Regions from separate parts of the Homo sapiens genome. Here region 1 is linked to region 2. The links are contacts of gene promoters, found by promoter capture Hi-C in human tissues and cell types (Jung and others, 2019). All regions are on one chromosome and are shown on one strand. Each heading gives the region's core, a stretch centred on a gene start or on the middle of the fragment in contact. The rest is flanking DNA. Distances are from core to core; before and after follow the strand shown.

Evidence for each region. The method cuts DNA at HindIII sites, captures the fragments that hold promoters and counts their contacts. A contact is called where the count stands out against the background at its distance.
Region 1: a fragment that was not itself captured here is called in contact with the fragment with the promoter of ERCC6 in region 2 in 1 of the 25 tissues and cell types used here (dorsolateral prefrontal cortex).

Annotation. Positions count from the first base shown.
Region 1 is chr10:48,545,243-48,552,932 of GRCh38, forward strand. The region is part of intron 3 of ARHGAP22 (Rho GTPase activating protein 22); the gene reads right to left. Among named protein-coding and RNA genes, the nearest start is that of ARHGAP22-IT1, 37 kb to the left of the region's middle. The HindIII fragment of the contact is 3,725 bases long and covers 245-3,969 here.
Region 2 is chr10:49,537,319-49,544,436 of GRCh38, forward strand. It overlaps ERCC6 (ERCC excision repair 6, chromatin remodeling factor), which reads right to left and starts at 1,803. Exons shown (of 21, transcript NM_000124.4): 1 at 1,644-1,803. RefSeq lists silencers at 312-500, 1,446-1,735 and enhancers at 2,156-2,215, 2,246-2,485. The HindIII fragment of the contact is 14,771 bases long and covers 1-5,060 here.

The DNA.
Region 1 (7,690 bases), core at 857-3,356, 990 kb before region 2:
TGCATTACATCTCTATAGAAGAGCGCTGCTCTAGGACACGATTTTGGCCAAAGGAATGATCCTGCTCAAGGGGACTCTTTCCAGGGAGCCTGCAGGAGTTTCCCACACCTGGTCCTGTGCTGAGCTGAGAGAAGTGAGGCTAAGACAGGAGAACCCCACTGCAAAGCCAGGAAGTGTAAGAGCCACTCCCATCTCAGGGGTGGGGATCACTGGCAAACTTCTCATCTAATTTCATTTCTGTCATTACCCATCATCTGGCGCTCTGCAGACAACCTCAGCAGGGGCTGCACGAGGTCAGGCCAAGACTCAGGCTGGCTGGTACCAGGTGCCGAGATAGGCCGGTATCAGCATCCTCCCCACTCAGGCGGCGGCTAATGTGATCAGGGATGCTCTGGGCATGTCAGACACACAGTATCTGTCTCCTCTGCGGAGTAATCTGTGCACACTGGCTCTCCTTCAAGGTCAGGCCTCCCTTTAAGACAGCAGGCAGCAGTCTCCTATCTGCTCCAAGGGCAGGCTGGATAAGGCCAGGCAGCTACAAGCTCCATGCCTGAGGGCGACTTCAATGACCTTGTGTAGCCATAAGACGGGCAGGAACTGGCTCCCTCTGGACAAACTTGGCTATAGAATGCCAGCTGGTGCCATTCTACTCGTTCAAGCAGACACGTCGGAGGTCACTGGGCCAGCCCTCTCGTCTTACACAGGGGGAAACTGAGATTCAGAGAAGGGAAGAAATCTAATCTGGTTGCCCTTGAGAGCTAGGGTCTGAGCTGAGTCTGGAAGCCACTTAAACAGGCCCCCAAGGCAGAGATGTTGTTAGTGATCAGGACTCCCTGGCTTGATCCTGGAGAACTTGACACATAAACTTGTAAATGCACGAAAGACTCAGGGCTCTGCTTTAAGCAGCCTGGCTTCTGCGCTGCCTCCCACAGGGGTCCCCGCTACTCCTGTGGCAGTGTGGTCTTTTCTGTCGACATTGCCAGGGTAGGGGTGGGGGCACAGAATAGACATTGGTGGAGATGAGCATCAGACATTACAGTTCTTGTAAGCCCCTCAGTTGGTCTACCCTGAGTGATCTTTCTAACACATAGTTTTTGTTTTATTTTTAAGGATTCAAATGTACTTTACTTTTTCCATAATGCCATATTTTAATGGGCACATGGAGCTTTTACTTGGCATCAATTATGATTTGTGTTTTAAACAATTCAGTATGACACCAGCTGGGATGATTACTGATCTCTCCATTCCGTTAGGGGTGACCCTGGCAACAGGGCACAGATTCCATCCAATTCCAATTGGTGTTGCAACATAGGTCCATACGGGCAGTAGAGAAAGAGGCTCCGCTAGCTAACATGGCATTACCATACCTGTCATGAAAATCATGTGTACATTTCTGGTGGCTCTGCCTTTCCATTGTTTGCTGAATGCTTTGAACTCTGAGGTTACTTACTGTGCCGTTGGCCAAGGGAAATCCTGAAGCTAAAGATAAAAGTGTCTCAGTCAGGGACACCTCTATCAGAGCACTCATCACACAGCATTGTGATGGGATTGGGTTGCTGTTATTAATCATAACGATTAATGATTAGAGAGCATGCAGGGAGGAGGGGAGCTTATCTAGACCAGGTACCTACTATGAGCCAGGATCTGGGTTCTCAGTGAATCCTCACCACAACCCAAGGTGCTTGGCAATATTCTCACCCCCAGTTTATGGGACATTGAGGCACGGAGCCCTCTGTGACTTGTCAAAACCCACACAGTCCCTGAGTAGCATGGCTATGCTCACATCCAGCTCTCCCTGACTCTGGCCTGGAGAGATGGGTGGTCTGGAACAGCACTGACTAGATGCTGTGAGGCCCTTGATGTCTGTTGAGAGTGTGTGGAAAATGGGCACAAACAGGAAGATGGCTCCCAGGCTTGCCTCCCCAGCTCTTCCTCGGAAGCTTCCTTTCTACATGCAGACACCAGCTTGCCTAGGCAACATCTGCATCCGCGTGTGGTGTGTCTGGCGACAATCAACCCCATGGCCCTGATTCCCATGGGACACAATGCTAGCTTTGCTACTACCATGGTCTCTGAAGACTGGTTGGAGCTGAAAACCCAAGACCTCAAAGCCATCCCTGTCCAGGCCTCCTATTGCCTGCAGGATTCCCATCTGGTGTTTGGGGAGTTGGGGGGGAGGCCCCAAGGAGCCCAGTGGGAGGGAAGGAGCATGGACCTCTGTGGGAGAGCAGAGAGCTTGCCAGGCCTCTGAATGGTACAGCTGGCCCCCGAGTCTCCTGACCCTGATCTTGAGAAATATGGGGCTCCCAGCCCAAAGCAGACAGGTGCTCCAGGATGGGGACTAGACCCAGGCCTCAGAGCAGCTGTGGTACCCTTCACCTCCTTCTGCACCAGAAAACAGAGCACTCTCCTCCTCCTCCTTTTCCTCAGATCCAGGGTGGCCATTCACGTCTTCCTCGGGCTAATCCTCAGCACTGCACACTCAGGTCCTTCCCCACAAGTAGGAATTGCTCCTGAGTGTGGGGGGCCATCGGCTCGGTGCAATGTTGTTGAAAAGGCATCCCGTCCTGGCCCCTTGTCTGGCACTTGGAAAGGGCAAGGCCAATGATGTGACACTCAGCCCTGCAGAAATACAGTCATGGACCATCTGGAGCAGTGAACATTTGACAGAGACTGGCTGTTTGTCTTCTACTCTCCCCTCTGGAAGGCACCCAAGTTCCTTTGGAGTCTCCTTGCCCCCACTAGGCGAAGTCTTGGGAGGGCTGGTCCAGATGCCAGAGTGGATAGGCCCTTCCTCACCACCCCAGTGTAGTCAGGGGTAGGCATGTAGCTTAAGCACAGATACTGAGACTTTGGGCTTTCGGCAAGTGAGCCATGCCGGGATTGCAGAGCCAGGCGAGATTCAACCTTCCCAGCACAGAGTACCACCCGCTCGCCCCTCCCAGCTCCTGGCCCCGTGACAGCCCAGCCGCTTGCCCCTTCCACAAGTGTCACTCCCATCACATCCTACCCCCTGGTTTCTGGTGAATTTCCCCTTTGCTAGAGTTAGCCAGAGCTGGCTTCTGCAACCTGCTCCAACCAGGACTCTTAATCTCCACTCCCCCGGCCCCACCCCATTTACGGTTACTCACTAGAAAGACTTATGGTTCTGGTCTCAAGCCTGCAGCCAACCCACTTGGTTCCCTTTGATAGCACCAACCCACTTGGTTCCCTTCAATAGCATTGTGCTAATTCCAGAAGACGGATTTTAGCAATGAGTTACAAAGCTTAACGGATGACCTAATTCATCTCACCAAACATGGCCGTTTTTTGGGGACAGGCCTGCTCTGGGATCTTAGCAACTCTTTTTGCCCAGAGTGCCAAAGCAGGCCTCTCCACTCCCCACCCGCTCCTTGTGGATTTAAAGGGAGGCCTAAACTTGGCCTGGGGCTGGATGCCCACATCAGCAAAAAGCCCAGGTCTGAGAGGCCCCCAGGATCAAGTCTGCAAGGAGCAGACAGCTTTCAAAGGGCTGGGAGGGGCAGGGTTTGCCAGGCAGCTGCCCTGGCAAGACAGAAGTACCAGGTGGGCAGGACCTGGGGGTCCTTGAGTCTCAGTCCCTTTGTGGGGCCTGGCTCCTTCATGCCTGCCCCGGGGGAGCTAGCCTCAGCAGGCTGAGGAAGAGCAGGGCTCTGGGGTTAGAGCTGGCTCAAGCTGCAGTTCCACCGCTCACCGGCCCTCGGATCCCAGCAAGTTACTTAGCTTGTCAGAGTCCCAGGGGCCTTGCCTGTTAGATGGGTTAGTAGAGGTTAGTCCCAGGAGTGTGGTGAGGATAAACGTGGTGTGCTCAGCTTCATTCCTTAGAAGGAACTCAGTGAATGTTTAGCCCACTAGCACTCATACACACCTTGGTCTACAACCTCAGGCACTCAACAAATATGATATTTGTTAGAAAGAATCATGTTAATTCTATCTCCAAGCCCTATGTTCCCAGGCTGGAAGGGAGCTGAGTCCCAGCTACTATTGAGATGGAGGGAAGGGGTCCTCTTTGCTGTGGTCAGGCTTACATGGGGCCTGGCAATGGGATGGGCTGTTCTTGGTCCCTCCTGGTCACCTGATGTCTTTACCTGCAGTCACTTGGGGCTGGAAGCTAGGTAGCTCTCCTGCCTTTCTTGACCATGGTGTGTCTGTCTGAGGCGGGACCCTGGTGTCTGGAGCCTGCTTTCCTGGTGGCACCATGCCTATCACCTTCCTGGGGCATTGCTGGGGGCAGGGTGACCAGTCTAGGGGAACGCCTCTTTCCCGACCCTGTCCACATCAATTATCTGGGGTGGGAGAGCAGGAGATTTCTGCTTTCTGCTGCAGAGACCTCACCTTCCCCTGAGGCAAGTGGCCTAGGGATTAAAAAGGGCCAGGAGATCAAAGCACAAACCAGCATCTTATACATTATACGGTCCTCCTCCTCTTGGAATAATAATTATTAGAATTAAAACATTGGTTATAGCTTTGCCTGCCCCCAATTAACTCAAACCTCCTCTCACTCAGTCCGCTTGTGAGGCCCATCTCATTCACCCTTCCAGGATTCTAAGTCCCCCACTATCTCTACACCAGGGGCAGCCTCTCCACCTTGGACCCTGAGCCCACTCAGCAGTGTTTTTTGCAAGCCCTCCAGATGAGGCGGAGGCTCACTAAAGCTTGAGAACCACTGCCCGACACCATTCTCCTGCCACAGAGGACAACTTTTCATTCTGGCAGAAAGCTTAACCTCCTGTTGCTTCCAATCCTTACATTAAATTCAGTTACCTATGTGCTGAGCGCCTTGGAACTAAGGTGTGAAGGAGACACACAGACCCCGTGCCCACTGTGCTTGCCCATTGCTGCTTCTGCCCAGCTGCTCTCCCTGATTCTTCACCTGGCTGACTCTCACTTAACCTTCAAAGAGCAGGGTCGTTGTCACTTTATCCTGGAAGTCCCATGCACTCCCTGCGTGCATTAGGGTCCCCTCCTCCAGGCTCACACAATTGCCTTTTTACTCTCCTCCTAGCCTTTCTCATCCTGTGAGTCAATGTCTGCCTTCCTGCCTGCTTCCTGAACTTGTTAATTCTGTGAGGGTAGGAAGGTGTCTTTCTTACTCCAAGGTAACAGATCATTATACAGAATGGCAGGACTACTGACTGTTCACCAAACCAGCCTTGCCTTCCTCCTGGAAAGAGGTGGACTCCATTTCCCAGACTCTCTTGCTCCGAGGTGTAGCCATGCAACTGCATTCTGGCCAATGGGCTGTGACGGGATGATGGGGCCACTTCCAGGCCTGGACCAACACATCTCCCAGGCATGATGGCCTCCTAGCATGGAAACAACTAGGATACTTTTGCAAGCCACAGGTTTCAGATGGCGAAACCATGAAATAGGAAGATGCTGGGAGATCAACTGCCTGCCAATCACAAGTGTTCATTTTTGACTTTATATGAAAGACAAATACATTCTTGTGTCAAGATCCTGAGATTTGGGGGTTATTCCAGCAGTTCACTTACCCTAATACAAAAAAGCTAAGCTCACTGGAGAATAAACATGAAATGGTTTTACTTTCCCAATAACTATGCCTATCACTTCCTACCTTCCCTTTGAGTCGTTGCTCACTTGGTGATTTTCCCAGGGTCCAGAGTGTGTGCCACTCTTAGTTATTCTAACAGTCTCATTAAGGATCTCTCCAATCCTTAATTCTGTTCCCTCACATCTGGTTCAAAGCTCTTTTTGTGCTGCTCCCCCAGCACTGTGGCCCTCACGGACTGGGGTGTGCTGGCATAGATAGGGGTTGCTTCTCCTAGACTCTTCCCTGAACTGCACCCTGGGCACTGGGGTGGGAAGGAGGCAGAGGGGAAATGTAGACCTTTCTTTGCTTGCCAGGCAAGGTTGCAGTTCCCTCCCTGGTGGACGGTGTTGTGAACTGGGGCAGGGGCACCCTCCCAACCAGCTCCTCTGGGCACTGGGGATCTGTTGTGCGTTCTGACCTCAAATCTCAGCTGACTTCCTGCAGGTGGCATCTTGCCTGTCTGCCCTGCACTATGAGAATTCTAGAAAGTCTGAGGGCCCATGTCATCCTCTTTTCTCCATCAGTGCCCAGGCCTGTGGTCCCACAGAGGCTTCACATTCTGCTCCTCTTGAGAACTGGATGCTTACGGCAGGAGGTGTGCCTGGCAGAACCCCATTTGCCATCAGTCCTCAGTCAGATTTTCCTTGCCTGGGTAACCATGAAAAGCAAATCTTGTGTGTAAGCAACTGTCCAAGCAAGACACAAATGCCAGTCACCCTTTCTCTCAGCCTCCCTTAAACTTTATAAGTGGTTTTCCTGCGTGTCCCCGCAGCTTCAGGGAGGAGACCGTCACCTCTGCCCAAAGCAATTGCTCCCACCTCTCAGTACGCTTTATATACTGACCATGTCGGGAAAGCAGTGGCAGGCCACAGCCACAAGAGGACAGAAGTCCCACTGGCACTAAAGCCCCCTTATAAGAGTGTTTTCTCTGTGTCTTGCTCAGTGGCTGGATGTGCAGGTTCTCAGGTGCTTTTGGAACCAGAGGTGTATGCTGTATCAAGTTCCAAGACCTCCCAGCCCAGATGGGAACAATGCTAGAATCTGTAGGAGGCCCCATATGGCCAGATGTCTGTGTTGGAGGGCAATTTTAGTGTGTGGCTTTGGAAGCCAGATGGCTTGGCCTCAAGCTCCACTCCTATCTAGCTGTGCTGGCTGAAAGGCTGGGGGTGGGCAACAGGGCCTGCACTTTCTGGCCCAGAACTGGCAGATCTCTCCACTAGATGGCACTCACAGTATAATGTTTCCTCATTTTTAATTCTACTTTGAAAACATTGTCATTTTTTATACCGTTGAATTGCACAAATAGAACTATGGCTTAAAATTTACGTAGTTAATTCTAGGCATGACCTTCCTTGGAATTCTGTCACATTTCCAAGAGTTGTCAAGTTTTTCCCCCTCTTGGGGGTGCTGGTTGGAGAGTGAGGGACCCATTGTGGTGTGACCAGTACCACAGGCCAGCACAGGCATAGCCTGGAAGTGATCCGGGGTTTGTCCTCCTTCCTCATATCCTGCCCTGATTTCCTGGCCTAGGCCCAGACCCCAGGCGGGGCTGTTAGGCTCCTTCCTGCGCCTGTTAGTTCACTGCTCACAGAGCCTGCCACCTGGCACCCTCGGAACTGTAGGAGAAGCCCCTTGTCCCCCCAGATGCACTTGCCACCCTTCACCCACCCAGCCTGGATTTCCTCTTGGTCTTTGCACATTTACCCCGGGGGCTGTGCTTGGTGCACACTGGCATGGCCCACTTGGTGATACTTCCTGCTCCTGCCCCCAGGTAACTGTGCTCAGCCTAGTGAGGATAAGTCCTTATTGTGCCTTGAGCTCAGGAAGAAAATGTCCCCAGACTCCCTAATGGCAGAGACTGACCCCTGCTCATCTCAGGGCCCTGCAAGGCTGGCTCAAAGCTGAGGTCACACGAGAGGTTTGCTGAGTTGGATGTGAATGGGTTTCTTGGCCTTCCTGTGACTGCACGTTGCTGTGGTTTAAGGTGGGTTCATCCAATCTTCTTATTCGTTTTTAGCCCCAACATGGCCTATAGCTGAAGCCTCAGTCAGCAACTGCTGTAACAGGAAGCCCACCCTTCTGGGGTCAGGCTGACCTGGGAGGGTCCAGGCTCCTGTA
Region 2 (7,118 bases), core at 553-3,052:
GGCGACAGGGCAAGACTCCGTCTCAAAAAAAAAAAAAAAAAGAAAGAAAGAAATCATACATTTAACAAATAGTTACTGAGAGTTAATTACACCAGGCAATGTACTAGGTTAACTAATTCCTGTCCCCAAAGAGCTTAGAGTCTCATGGGAAAAACAGACATTTAAAAACTATATATATATATATACACATACACACACACACACACACACACACACAAATATAATTGTGGTGACTGCTGTTAAGAGGAAAGTACAAGGCTTTCTGACAAAATGAGAGAAACCAAATTGAAATTGTGGAGGTAGATGTGGGGTCAAGGAGGCCTCTCTGATAAAGTGACATCTGATAAGTCAGTCAGGTCGAAAGTAAAGTGAACGTCTTGCAAGGAAACAACGTGTGAAATTTTTTTTTTTTTTGAGACGGAATTTCGCTCCGGTTGCCCAGGCTGGAGTGCAACCTCCGCCAGGCTCCGCCAGGCTCACTGCAACCTCCGCCTTCCGGGTTCAAGCGATTCTCCTGCCTTGGCCTCCCGATTAGCTGGGATTACAGGCATATGCCATCATGCCCGGCTAATTTTTCGTATTTAGTAAAGACAGGGTTTCACCACGTTGGTAAGGCTGGTCTCGAACTCCTGACCTCGGGTGATCCACCCACCTCGGCCTCCCAACAACGTGCGTAACTTTTAAGACTAGAAAGAGCTGATGCACTTGTGAAAATGCAAGAAGGCTGGAACACCGAATTTTTGACTTTATTTTTAACTTTGAGTTAAGAAGAGCAGAGAAGGGCTCCGTTCATGGCCTAAGTCTTGCAGAGTATCTTCTAAGGCTTAATCATCTGGGACACTAGTATCTTCACCGTCCTCCCCCATCACTGGGGCTCCCGCAGCCAGGGGCAAGCTGGGTCTCATTTGGAGGGTTGGTCGGACACAGGCACAGTTCTGAGAGGGGACAGGCAAGGGCCAAATCACACAAGGCCTGGGAAAACACGAGCATGGATTCCACTCCCAGTGCAATGGAATGACTCTGAAAACTGTTAAGTAGGCTGATGATGGCATGACCTACTTTATGCCAGAGACCACCTGGACAACTGTGCGGATAATGGATTGGAGGAGACAAAGCAACAAGAAGATGATGGGAAAAGTTGAGGAGAAAAGCGAGGGCTGCCTGTCACAGGATGACAGCAGTTAAGACGCTGCGTGGAAGTCACGTAACAGCAGCATTTACAGGCGGCCTGCCTCATCCGCCCACACTCTTATCAATTTGACTCTATCAACGCCCAAAACGTCGGACGTACATCTAGCCCGACTCTCTTTAAAATAACAGCTCCAGCATTTTAATCGAGATCAAAAAGGACCCAGCTGACCCTGCGCGCAGGGGGCCTTATACAAAGTCGGAGAAGTAGCTGGGTCGCTGGCCGGCCAGGGACTCAAGCCGCCTCAGGTGAGCGCTCCTTGGCGCTACTTCCGGTCTCAGGTGAGGCCGCCGGAAGCGGGCACTTGGCCCTAAGACCCGCTACAGTGCGTCCTCGCTGACAGGCTCAATCACCACGGCGAGGCCAAGGCGCGGGGCCGCGGCCCGCCCGAGAAGCCTGAGCTGGGCCCCGACACCCCCTGCCCGACATTCGGCCGGGACCCCCGAACACTCACCCAGGGCCGCGCGAGCGCCCACAAGGAAACAGAGACGCTACCGCCGCCAGCCGCCTTGGAACCCAGCTCGACGGGCCGTGGCGCCTGCGCCCTCAGCTCAACCATAGACACCGCCCCCAACAGCGACTCCGACTTCTGCTGGTGCGGGGAGGCCCGTGGCGCATGCGCCTGGCTCAGCGTTTGTTTTTAAGCACGGGCAAGACCACGTGGTTTGGAGGGACGGGCTCAGCAGCGCCTTTCTACTTGCGTGCGAGCAGGGCGAGAAAGCTGTCTCCGCTGCCGGTCAGCTGGGTGGCTTGCGAAGGACGCTTCGCCCCTAGCGAAAAATACCCTGCTGGCAAGGCAGTTATGAAAGTTAAGACATATTTCCACGTAGAGGGGGATGCGGGTGTGCCATGCGAATGTAAATCCTCACAATTAACCTTGAACCCTGCAGAGAAAGTCAGCTTGGGCAGGGAAGTTAGCCGCACTTTTTGGTCGCCAGGCTGTGACCTCTCTTGTTGTCTCCCACGACTGAACACGGGAAGGATGGAGAGCTGTCCTGCTTCTCTGTTCCCCCTCCGCCACGCGCGCACCTGGGCGGAGTGAGTGCCTACAGAGCCTGCTTACATGTGTACATTGCCTTAAGTCCAGCGTTTAGTATCCGTCCTCAGATCTCAGAGGTAGGCGGGGTTTCGAGGCAGGCGAGAATTTTACCGTGGTGCGTTTGAAGAAAGAAGATGTCCACACAGAGGTTCAGAACAATGGGAGGAAGTTGAGCTTCGCCTGGGGAAAGAAGCAGCCCACGATGCAGGATGGCTGTACCAGACAGAGCTTCTCAGCTCAGGATCGGTGCTAGGAGAAGGTGGACTTTCCAGGGCCGCGAGGCAGGACGTCCTCTGGGAGGGCAGTGACTGCGGGTCACTGCCTGGGAAGTGCTGTCCTCACTTGGAAGCCTGAAGTCGGACAATAGGGAAATGGGGTCGGAAAGGGGACTAGGAAATGCTCCATAACATCATCTTATTCCTCCTGTCAGCGGCCCCAACCCACAATGTAACTTGTTTTTGTTGGTGGTAGTGGGTTTTTTTGTTTGTTTTGTTTTTGTTTTTGTTTTTGAGACGGAGTTTTGCTCTTGTCGCCCAGGATGGAGTACAATGGCACGATGTGGGCTCACTGCAACCTCCTCCTCCCAGGTTCAAGCGATTCTCCTGCCTCAGCCTGCCGGGTAGCTGGGATTACAGGCGCCTGCCACCATGCCCAGCTAATTTTTGTGTTTTTAGTAGAGACGGGGTTTCGTCATGTTAGCCAAGCTGTCCGCGAACTCCTGACCTCAGGTGATCCACCCGCCTCGGCCTCCTAGAGTTCTGGGATTACAGGTGTGAGCCACCACGCCCGGCTTGTAACTTGCTTTTTTTTTTTTTTAAAGGAGAAAGAATTCTAGCGATTTCTTGGATAAAATATTAAGAATAGAAAGGCAGTTGATTGACATTAGTTTCAATGCTTGAAAGTAAAAGCAGATATATAGTGGATCCCAACTTTTGAGACTGAGGTTCCCTTTGCAGCTATTTTGGAGACCCTTCCTATATCAGAATTTGGACAGGAAAAAATGGTCCACTCAAAAGGGGAAGTTGAGAGTTATTATTTACAAAGACGTGGGCGGGGTTCAGGAAAACAACTCAGGGTGGCACAACTGGAGCTATTAAGGGCCGAATTGTGTCCCCTCCCCAAAATTCATATGCTGGAGTCCTAACCGCCACTCCCCACCCCCACCCCGGGACCTCAGAATGTGACTGTATTTGAAGATAGGGTCTTTAATGAGGGAATTTAGTTAAATGAGGTCCCAAGTTATTTAGCAAGTCGTCCAAGCCCTTTTATACTCCTGCCCCATCTAATTTTTCTGCATCACTTGTGTCCTTCACTCCCTGGATGCCTATGCTCAGGATTTAGGGAACTACTTACTCTTCTCCCAGGAAGGGTGTGCTACAATTGGCTTCTACGGCCTAGCAAGCATACTGTTCACCTCTTCCCAGCTGCCTTAGCTCAGGCTGCCATAACAAATGCCATAGACTGGGCAGCTTAAACAACAGGCATTTGTTTCTCATAGTTCTGGAGGCTGGGAAGTCCAAGATCAAATGCAGGCAGATTTAGCTCATTTAGGGGAAGCTCTCCTCATGGCTTGCAAATGGTTACCTTCTCACTGTGTCCTTACATGGGGTAGAGAGAGGGCTCTGTCTTCCCTTTCTTCTAAGGCATCAGCCGTATTGGATTAGGGACTCACCCTTATGATCTCATTTAACCAGATTTGCTGCCTAAAGACCCTGTCTCCAAATAGTCACATTGAGGGTTAGGGATTCAGCATATGAATTTGGGGGGCACCCAGTTTAGCCCATAGCACCAACTCTGCCTTTGTTGACTTCACATTAATAGCTTGAAATCAGCCATAGTAGGAGTATTTATACCACAGAAATGGACAAACTATAAACTGGAACTTTGGGGGAGAGGCAATTATTAATCTTTTCCCACATACCCCTACTTGTTATTCTGTCACTTCTGTGATCTTACAAGCAGGTCCCTCTGCTTAGAATTCTCTTACCCATTCCAAACTCAGACAAAGTTTCTCTTTTCTGAAGCTTTCCCCTACCCTCTGACAGCAATAGGCTCTTGCATCTCCTGTGTACCCCCAAACCAATATTTCTAATGTCATTATTATAGTAGTTATTGATTTGGATTTTAATCCATTTTCCCTACCATTTCCTAGCCCTTACTCTAAGCTGGGCATTATTTTAAACACCCCACCCAAGGGGTTCTTCCTGCCCACTGCATAAAGAAAGACCATAGCATTGTGGTAGAAAAAGAGCTTAATAGACACGAGGCCGACCATGCCAGGTGGGAGATGGAGTGCATGCTCAGGTCATCTGATCCAAAGTCCGAAGCTCATAGGCTGGGGGTTTTTCAAACGCAGTTTGGAGGAAGGGGTGGGAGTGGCCAGGTAACAGGTGCTTGCTGCTGATTGGTTGAGGCTGAGATGAAATCATAGGGGGAGTCAAAGCTGTCCTCCTGCAGTCTGAATCACTTCTGGGTGGGGCTGTGGGAGTGGGGTTGGCGGTCCAGGTGGAGCCATGGGTGTCAGACATGCAAAAAACCTGGAAAGATATCTCAAAAAGCTACAAATAGTGGTTGTATTAGTCTGCTCTCGTGCTGCTAATAAAGACATACCCAAGACTGGGTAATTTATAAAGGAAAGAGGTTTAATTGACTCACAGTTAAGCATGGCTGGGGAGGCCTCTGGAAACTTACAATCATGGTGACAGGGGGAGCAAACATGTCCTACTTCACATGGTGGCAGCAAGGAGAAGTGCAGAGTGAAGGAGGGGGAAAGCCCCTTATAAAACCATCAGATCTCGTGAGAACTCACTATCAGAACAGCATGGAGGTAACCACCCTCACGATTCAGTTATCTCCCACCGGCTTCCTCCCACAACATGTAGGGATTATGGAAACTACAATTCAGGATGAGATTTGGGTGGGGACACAGCCAAACCATATCAGTGGTGTTATTTGCAGGAGTAATTGGGAAAGTTGAGTATCTTATAACCTCCAGAATAATGACTGACAATCGTTCATATCTGCGCCTTAGCAGGACTCAGGCTCCTCTCCTCCCCCACAGCCTGATAGCTTCCCATTAGCTTTACAAAAACAGTTGAGTTTCAGGCAAGGTCTGTTATCATGTAAACTATAGCCTAAATGTCTCTCAAAGTTAGCTGGCCCCAGTAGCTTAGAAATAATTAAGGGAAAGGCAAGATAGGTGTTGGAATGGGGGCGTTAACTCAGACCTCTTTCACTGTCATAATTTTCTAACTGATATAATTTTTGCAAAGGTGGTTTCATTGTCTTGAGTGCTTTACTAATGTTAACTTGTTTAACTATGACGATATTCATCCTTGCGCCTTTATTTCACATTTCGTGTTCAATATAAGGAATTCTCCCAATGACCTACAGAACAGAGGTCTGAGTTGACTCTCACTTTTCAAAACTTCTGGGTAACGGCAGTGCAACAAAACCGGTTTGGTTCTCTGATCCTTATAAATGGGGAAAACTCATGAAAAATAATTAGATGTATTGGAAACACAATAAATACTTTGTAAAAATTATAAATCAAAAAAGAAGCAAAAGCATATTATTTAGAACTGTGTTGGCAACCACTAGAAAAACATGTTAAATGTATGTTGAATAAATGAATCAGCAAGCTTAAAAGCAATGAATGTATAAAACCATCCATTGTGAACTGTTACCAGGAAGGATTCCCGATCCAGATGCCGAGAGAGTTCTTAGACCTTGAGTAAGAAAGAATTCGGGGCAAGTCCATAGAGTAAAGTGAAAGCAAGTTTATTAGGAGAGTAAAGGAATAAAGAATGGCTACTCCATAGGCAGAACAGCAACTTGGGCTGCTTGATGAGAATACTTATAGTTATTTCTTGATTATATGCTAAAGAAGGGGTAGATTATTCCTGAGTTTTCTAGGAAAGGGGTGGGTAATTCCCAGAACTGAGGGTTCTTCCCATTTTTAAACCATATAGGGTAACTTTCTGATATTGCCATGGCATTTGTAAGCTGTCATGTGCTGATAGGAGTGTCTCTTAGCATGCTAATGCATTATAATTAGCATATAAGGAAGAGTGAGGATGACCAGACATCACTTTCATTGCCATCTTGGTTTTCGTGGGTTTTGGCCAGCTTCTTTACCGCAAACTGTTTAATCAGCAAGGTCTTTGTCACCTGTATCTTGTGCCAACCTCCTACCTCATCCTGTGACTTAGAATGCCTGCCCTCTTGGGAATACAGCTCAGTAGGTCTCAGCCTTATTTCACCCAGCCCCAATTCAAGATGGAATCACTCTGGTTCAAATGCCTCTGACATATTTCTCCCTTCCCTTTTACAAGGGAACGCCTAATCCAAAGGGTAGTAGAGGGACAAAGATCCATCTTCTGTAACTTCTTCAAGCTGAATAAGGGCTATGCTACTCCTACCTAACTATTATGGTCTCTTGTATTCAGGGTAGTGAGGAGCTCAGTCAGAAGGCATCACTATGGTGAGGGACATTCATAACTCTTGAGGGCAAAAGGTGATATCTGGAAGATTAAAAAGTATTCAATTTAATTAAACATTGAGTAAGCTTATCCTGCACTCCCACACGGAGTACAACAGCAATATGTTCCACAACGGTAAAGCAAAATAAGTAAAACTATCCCAAGTAAACTAAATTAGAAGGCTTTCCATGAACTCGGCAACAGCTGGAACTGGGCAAGCTGATATGAAGTTGCTGTACATGCTATATGTTCCAATTAGAATTAGAATATTGATCCAGATTTTTACATTACCCATTTCTGTTATTTTTTTTCTGAGCAGCAGCCAGAGATCACTGGTTAGTTGGCAGGAAAAAGTAGGGTTAGTCTAAATTGCAAGGAAGAAAAAACCCTTAAAAATAACTGATGAGAC